2 separate regions of the Homo sapiens genome follow, and region 1 is linked to region 2. The links are contacts of gene promoters, found by promoter capture Hi-C in human tissues and cell types (Jung and others, 2019). All regions are on one chromosome and are shown on one strand. Each heading gives the region's core, a stretch centred on a gene start or on the middle of the fragment in contact. The rest is flanking DNA. Distances are from core to core; before and after follow the strand shown.

Region 1 (4,004 bases), core at 12-2,511, 260 kb after region 2:
GGGAGAGAATTTAAACGTGTAATTTGAACATTAAACAGCCAGGAACTTCCAGAAAATTCTCTTGTGCTGCCATGACCAGTATCAAAGAACTTTACAAGGCTGAGGAGAGCCCACCAAATGTTTTAAGTGTTTTGAGTCTAAAATCTGGGTATTAAAGCTTGGGCCAAGTGGGAGAAAAAGCAATCTTAGGAAAAGAAAGTGCTAAGTCTGGTCCCTGGAGTTTAAGGCTTGTGTAATGACAGGCAAGAATAAGGTGATTAGGCCCGGTGCGGTGACTCACGCCTGTAATCCTAGCACTTTGGGAGGCCGAGGCAGGTGGATCACGAGGTCAGGAGATCGAGACCATCCTGGCTAACACGGTGAAACCCCGTCTCTATTAAAAATACAAAAAATTAGCTGGGTGTGGTGGCAGGCGCCTGTAGTCCCAGCTACTAGGGAGGCTGAGGCAGGAGAATGGCGTGAACCCGGGAGGCGGAGCTTGCAGTGAGCCGAGATCGCGCCACTGCACTCCAGCCTGGGCGACAGAGTGAGACTCCGTCTCAAAAAAAAAAAAAAAAAAAAAAAAAGATGATTAATATTTTCAGAACTGTCCACTTCAAACTCTGATTCTCATGAAGGCAAAAAGGGTGAAAGGTAGTATTCACACTCCCAATTAGAAGCCTGAGAGAACAGCAAGAACAGCTGGCACAAGGATGTTGTAGAAATAACACAAGAGAAGACCCACACTGGGGATTCTAAAGCTGCTCCTTTGTGTTTCGATGGCGTTGCCACCGACAAACCTTTCCCCTTCCAGTCACACAGGGGCCACTGGAATCCCAATCCCTTGACAAAACACCAGATGCCTGAGATGTTTATTTGATGACTGGTTGAACGGGAGGAAAAAAACTCCTTTTCTCTCGTCTTTGGAGTTCACCTACTTAAACAAGAAGTCTGTCTTTTGTGCCTGTCACCATCGTGTTCTGTGAGGAGGTTTCAGTCCTTTACTCAAGGCAGAAATCCTTCTTAAGCCTTGATTTTCTTGTTTGGGCCTCTTACATGAAACAGACACAGGCTGTTGACAGAAATGTTGAAGTGGCCATGAAGTCTGGAGCCCGGATGTCGTTCACCTGCCAAACAGTGTCAAGGGTGAAAGGCAAAGATCGAAGGCCAAAGTGCCCCTAGCGTCCCCTGCAGCAGGTCTCAGTCAACCTTAATAGATCTATTAATAGAAAGAGGCTGGACTGCGCAAGGGCAGGGGGACTAGCCTGGCTAAAAGCAAAATAAAACACATCAACAGACACACTCTTCTTTTGTTAGGAGGAGGTGGGATCACAGGCCCACATGCTCCCAGACGAGGTGGGGCCAGGAAGACTCTCACAGGATTGCCTTTCATGCTGCCACGGATGGATGCTCCAGGCAGATCCACTCTGCCAAGGCGTGCTTTGGGATTAGCCGGGCACTCCTTTGTCTTTTCATGACGTTTCCAAAAGAAGACACTGTGACTCTGACAGAGGTGACCTGCACCTCACGACCCCCTCTGTGCAAACCATTAGCATTTCCGGATCTCAAAAAAACCAAAAAAACCCACAGGGCACATGCCAATTCATAGGACAAATGGAAACAGACTGAAAACAAAAACACAGAACCATGGCTTTTCAGACCTGTCAACATGGTTAGTGTTGGAAATAGGCACTGACTTCTCTTCCACCAAGTGGAATAAAAATTTAGATGTCTTTTAACATCTTAGATATTTTAACGTATTTAAAGTCAGGCAAAAAGCCCTATAGTCATTGCACTGCCTCAAAAATTATTTACGACAGTTCTATCTTAATGCTGTGTCCTGTTTTCCTAGCGATCAATGGCTTGAGGACCTCCCTTGAGCTCACTTTGCTGGCTCTGTTCTCTCATTTTGTTTTTGCGCTTCCCTCTCCTCTCCGGCATGTCTCAGGCCTTTATTTTTGTTGGTCCTAACAGCTGGTCCCCTTCCCTTCCCATCTGTCTCTATCATCTATTTTCAGGTTATGGCTCAGGCCCACCTTCCTGCTCCAGGAGAACATCTATGTATTCTCCAACGGCTGAGAAACATGCTGAGCGTCTAATGTCATCCTCCATATTGGTAACACGTAACATTAATAATGACAGTCATAATTTTCTGGAAGTAAGCCAAAGGTTCTAAGCTTAGATCGAACTGCAAAACAGTGTAACATAAAGTCAGCATTTGCTGTTACTATTAAATACATAAAAATTGGTTAATTTTATTACTTTTCCTTGTCTATATACAAGTAGGTACTTAAAATGGTGACCTTATAAACAGTCATCTCAGAGTGGCAATTATTGTTGGTGAATGGCTTAACGTCGTGGGTTGGTCACTACTTGTGAAATATCTGCTTTCTGAGCTGCAGAGAGTGTGGACGCCCTCTCCACAACCCCACACAATTGTGCTTCACTGTATGCACACCCAACACAACACATGCAAAGAGTGTGCGTCAGACTCAGACAATGTATTTCACTGAATTTGGACTCAAGTTCAACTCATCATTCTAATGAGTAAGAAGATTCAAAGATGACAAGGAAGCAAGCCCACACAGTCTACGGGCCATGGGATGATGAACTTTCGTTTTATTGATTTTTCAGTACCCAAGTGTGGCACTGTAAGGCTGCCACATACAGCAAGTGACATGACACCAAAAGGACCTTCCGAGAGTATTATTCTTACTTTGGATGGAAGACATCGCTTAAACAAAAAACATTTAAAGATGCTCCCTTGCTTTTTATAATTCCTAACTGTAAAATATAATTTTAGTACAGAACAAACAAATTCTCCTTGGTTGGTCACATCATTCATTATTGAAAGGGAAACTTAGTATCAAAAGAAACAAAACACTGAAATAAATAACTAAGTAATTTACTGAAAGGTAGTTTTGTTGCATTGCACACAACTGACCGCAGAGAATTCTAAAGCTGATTTTTTTCTTAAAGGATGAAAAACTCATTTGCCATTTTTAGTTTCTTGCTAAGTGATACATGCTCCTTATAAGGAAAACTACTCTGTGTAGGCCTGAGTTTAAAATGTAAATATCTGTTTATCCAGAGTTTGTTAATCTAGAGTACACAGATGTGGAAAACTGGTGGTGAAAAGAGGGACCTACCCAGCCTTCAGGGTGGCTGGGCAGGGGCCCCATGTTACTGGCCTCAGCCACCAGCAGCGTCTTCACTCCGCCCAGGTCAGAAAGCACTGCCTAAAGCCGGAGCTTAGGATGAACATGGGCAAAAAGCACTGGTACAGTTCCATGTGTTTCTCTTCTACTGTAATGTCCCCAGAGGGATTGTGAAATGTCTGAGAACATCCCCTGGAGGAGGTTTAAAAGTGAGAAGCCCATGATATGGCTATGGAACATAAGCACTTATTGCTGGCATGTTTCTACCAAGATTGAACACAATGCTTTTCTTTGATAAAGCTTTGGGCAAGTTCCTAGTCCAATTTCTTCTGCTACAAGTACACAGAATTTACTGCCTTCTTGGTCAGCTCTTGGTATGAATTCTTCTCTTGAATTAAGATCCTCCCTGGCTTGTCTCTCACCCACCCTGTATCTCTTAGAGAAAGCACCTGGCTGTCTTCACCTACGCGAGACCTTCTCTGGAATGTGATTTGCTGCGACTGCAGACATCTCCATACGGCATAATGAACTCCCTTGAGTGGTCTCTTTTTAAACAATTTTGGGTGAGGGGCAGGTTTCTTGGTTTGTTTCAAAACTCATCTTGAAAATAATCTAGACGGAAAAATCCGAAGTGAAATTCTGGTGCAACAAATATTTTAAGATTGAAGTTTGGTTACTTCTCTTGTCCATCTTTTCGTGCCCACAAATGGAAACTACATTCCTGATTTAAGAGGATGCTTCTGTCTGTATCCTTTTTTGAACTGCATTGTTCTCACAAGGACCAGCAAACTTTTTCTGTAAATATTTTAGTAAATATTCTAGGCTTTACAGGCCACATATAGTGTCTGCTGCATATTCTTCAACGTT
Region 2 (4,346 bases), core at 1,630-4,129:
CCCTCTGAGGTTTACACAGGGCTGCTGAAGATTTTTATCTCCTCTTCACTTTACAGGCAGGAGCTGGGGCCACACCAGTGTCACAGAGCTGGAGGGGAAGCACAGCAGGGCCCAGCTGTTCCCAGCCTCCAATCTCAGGAGTCCTTGAGAGCCTCAGAGTCCGAGATTCTGGGCCGTTGGATCTTTTCGATTCCTACTTTGATAAAGAGAAGGGCGGGGCGGAAGCCTCTGTCACACAGATTGGAACAGTCCAACGCTGACAGAGCCAGGACCTGGGGTCAGGAACTGAGCTCAGCTCCAGGCTCATCTGATGTCCTCCTGACAGCCTGAAGATGGAGACCTTATCTCCATTTACAGGCGTGGCAGGTGGCAGGGACTGGCCCCAGCTGACCACGGTTCTCCAAGTTCACAGCTGGGAATTCAGTCTTCCCTGCCACCCTCCCCTGCTGTCTCATCTGGATCCCCCGGTCATCTACTCCCACTACCAAAACTCCCGTATCCTTGAAAATTCCTAATACCATTAAGGAATGAAAGTACATAACAATGTGATGAATCACCTTTTACTTCCTAGACTAGCAACGAATGAAAGCTAAGTGTAACAAGGGTGTAGGGATACAGGCACATGTGTGAACTAGGTGTGAGTGTAAGCTGAGTTCAATGGTCTTTTGGAAGAAAATTCGTAAACATCTAAAGAAACTTCTGAAATGATTTATCCCACGGAAGTAGAAGTAAAATTCTACTTCTAAGGAGTTGCCCAATAAGCTGGTGCGCATGGACATGTGGACACACGATACATACAAGGGTATTTAGTACAATGCTGTTGGAATTAGCAAAGGCAAATTTGCTTTGGGTTATATCCCATCGGGATGGGATATAACCAGCTGCCTCTAGATGGCAACAGTGAATTAACCTGTGGCTTACCCATGTAGTAAAATACAATACCCTTGTTTAAAAGAAAATCAATCTGAATGTACTGCCATAAAACATCTAATGTGATTTGTGCTAGCTCCAAAATTTTAAAAAGCAACTGTGCATTGAAATGCATTTAATAAGGCAAGATTGATGGAGGGATCAAAGCCTCCTTTGGGACGCATAGAGTTCACATTCCCAAAACTGTGAAATTCAGGTTGCTGGTCTTGTCTACACAGGTCATCCACACATTCTCTCTTCAGGGCCACTGTCCTGACACAGCCATTCTTCTAGCTGCCTCAGGTAGGTCCACCCACTATAAACTATTGTAGAAGTCAGTTGTGTAATTTTTGAGAGGTGAAAATGTCACTGCTGTTCTGAATTTAGTATTACTTCGTTGAAAGAAAACATGGAGACTCTCATGGTTCATGTAATCTTGTTTTATCCTCCCCGTTTTGTTTTTTGGTATTACGTAAGAAACCTTAGAAAGCACTGTTGGCAGAAACGTCAGTCACTCAGAAAAAGTCCTGGCAGTCTGCACATCTTATTTTTATGTCCTTCTTGTGCACCCCACTACCAATCTCAGTTTCCAAACCCAACTCACAACGAGAACTTTACATCTTTTATGCCTAAGGAAGGGGCCATCCCGCGGTCCTGCCTATGGGATACAGAGGGGACACACGGGTGGCAGTGGAAGACACTGACTGCAAGCACCTTGGTTAACCGCTTCCTGCCACTTTCAGGGTTCTATAGGAAATGAAAGTTACAAAAAACAGCGTTGGAAAGCTTTTTCACAGGCTGTTTGTTAAACTGATCTCCAAGAAACACGTGTAACAGTGTAAACATAGGGTTAATTTTGTTTGTTTGTTTGTCTGTTTTTGTTAAGGCAGAGTCTCGCTCTGTCGCCCAGGCTGGAGTGCAGTGGTGCAATCTCGGCTCACTGCAACCTCTGCCTCCCGGGTTCAAGCAGTTCTCCTGCCTCAGCCTCCTGAGTAGCTGGGACTACAGGCGCAGGCTGCCACGCCTGGCTAACTTTTTTTTTTTTTTTTTTTTTTTTTTTGAGACGGAGTCTCGCTCTTGTTGACCAGGCTGGAGTGCGATGGCGCGATCTCGGCTCACTGCAACCTCCGCCTCCCGGATTCAAGTGATTCTCCTTCTGCCTCAGCCTCCCGAGTAGCTGGGATTACAGGCGACCGCCATCACGTCCGGCTAATTTTTGTATTTTTAGTAGAGACGGGGTTTCACCATGGTGGCTAGGCTGGTCTCCAACTCCTGACCTCAGGTGATCCGCCCGCCTCGGCCTCCCAACGTGCTGGGATTACAGGCGTGAGCCACCGCGACCGGCCTGGGTTAACGTTATGAACGAACGAACGAACGAACGAACGAAAGAGGCAACCGCTCTGTGGCTTCCTGAGGTTCACTCCGGGGTTTCCATCTTGACTCCCTCCCTCCGCTGATTCTGGAACTTCCTCTGGGGCAGCTCAGTGCGGTCCTCGCCGCACGGGACAGCCAGGGGGAGCGCGCGCTCTGCTCCCTCGCGGCCCGGTCGCTCCTGCCCAGCCCGGGCACCCCACTCTTCCCCTGACTCCGACGGCGGGTTCGTCCTGCCCAGACATGCCCGGCCGCAGGCGACCCGGGCCAAGCATCCCCACCGTGTCCCCCTCTCTCCCTGCCCACTCCCGGCGCCAGGTGCGCTCTTCCCCAGCCAGGGACCGCGGCGGAGACTCACCGGCAGCAGAACCGCGACGATGAAGACGACGAACTTAAGGATCTTGGGGTCCAGGAGCCATGGTCTGGTTCCCGACGCTGTCCTGGCTCCTGGATAGCGCCCTGCTCGAGCGCTCGAGGCGGTCGGGACGCTTTGTCCCCAAAGTCCCATGAGAAGGGAGGAGGGTGGATCGAAAGCGCCAAAAATCAATCAGAAATCGTCCCCGTAGTTTGTGCGCGTGCAAAGGTTCTCGCAGCTACACTGCCAGAATAGAACGTGCTCCTCCGCTTTTATACCCCGGAAAAAAGGCGTGGTCAGTTGTACTCCCTTCCCGCAGTCACTTCCAGGCACTCAGGCTGGGTCTCCCCCAGCACCTCCAGGAGGGCCCAGGTTGTGTGGGTGGGTGCATGGACGGACAGGAACTGGCTCTTTCCGGCAGCGGTGACCCAGGGCCTGCGGTTTGATTCCGGGTCCTGTCCAGGCTGTAGGCAGCAGAAGGGGAAGGAGCTGAGGCGCTGCCCGCTGCGCTGCTGTAGTCTGGGTAGTGAGCTCCAGAGGAGGCACTGGAGGCCCATCCTGAGCCTGCTCCCTCCCCGGGCCGCCTGTCTCTCCTCTTCTTAAACCCTGAACTACTTCCTGGCCTCAGGACTTCAGTCCACTCTTAGCTTCTGCTCCCACTCCCTCCTCCCACAGCGGCCTCACTGACCAGTGCACTGATGCCACTGATGTCTCCAGCCTCCTTGCTGCTGTGACCCAGCTCCAAGCTTCTCTGGCAGGGGCTTGGTATCCCTCAGTAGCGGGTGCCTGGCACCAAGGAGGGGCCCAGTGAACACATGAGTGGACAGAATGAAGGACACAGAGGCCATGACAGGCACCTGCAGAGGCTGAGGAGTAGGTAGGAGGGAGAGGAACGCCGGGGGCATCCCTAGCCACAACCTGGCACCCTTTGCATGGTCAAAGCACAAACACTCCCTGACCAACCTTGAGGGCTCTAGTATTGAGGCCCCATGGAGACAGGGGAATCAGGGGAGTGCCTTCCAAAGTCTGTCCCCAAGTCTATTGTCTACCCAGGTCCAACTGTCTGACCTTGGGCTACTTACCTCCCCATCCAGTTGAACACACTGCCGCTGTGAGGGCAGACCCAATGTGTGGTTTTGAAGGGTGCCAGCTTGTGACCCTAAGCAGTAAGGTCAATGGCAGGACTCCTAGACCCTTGGGATGAGTCGGCTCCTGACCCCTCACATGGTAGATAGAAGAGGATAGCGCTATAGAAATGAAGGTTTTTTGGCTCATGAGAAACCTGGGAATGAAATGTCATCCTCTCCACAGGCTTGGATTTGAGCGATGGATCACCCTGAGCACCTTCCAGGGCCCAGACAATGACCTAGGGTCAGAAATGTGAGCCAGGGCCGGGCGCGGTTGCTCACGCTTGTAGTCCCAGCACTTTGAGAGGCTGAGGTGGGCGAATCAAGAGGTCAGGAGTTCGAGACCAGCCTGGCCAACATAGTTAAACCCCATCTCTACTAAAAATACAAAAATTAGCTGGGCGTGGTGGCGGGCACTTGTAATCCCAGCTACTCAGGAAGCTGAGGCAGGAGAATTGCTTGAACCCAGGAAATGGAGGTTGCAGTGAGCCGAGATTCGTGCCACTGCACTCCAGTCTGGGTGACAGAGCGAGACTCTGTGAAAAAAAAAAAAAAGAAAAAAAAATGTGTGCCAGGTCCCAGGC

The links. The method cuts DNA at HindIII sites, captures the fragments that hold promoters and counts their contacts. A contact is called where the count stands out against the background at its distance.
Region 1: a contact is called between a fragment that was not itself captured here and the fragment with the promoter of TNFRSF10D in region 2, in 3 of the 25 tissues and cell types used here (IMR-90 fibroblasts, adrenal gland and spleen).

What each region holds. Positions count from the first base shown.
Region 1 is chr8:23,426,584-23,430,587 of GRCh38, forward strand. ENTPD4 (ectonucleoside triphosphate diphosphohydrolase 4) reads right to left here. Exons shown (of 13, transcript NM_004901.5): 13 at 2,579-4,004. Among named protein-coding and RNA genes, the nearest start is that of LOXL2, 24 kb to the left of the region's middle. The HindIII fragment of the contact is 3,070 bases long and covers 1-2,796 here.
Region 2 is chr8:23,161,148-23,165,493 of GRCh38, forward strand. TNFRSF10D (TNF receptor superfamily member 10d) reads right to left here and starts at 2,880. Exons shown (of 9, transcript NM_003840.5): 1 at 2,639-2,880. The coding sequence starts at 2,788. RefSeq lists an enhancer at 2,618-2,737. The HindIII fragment of the contact is 7,003 bases long and covers 771-4,346 here.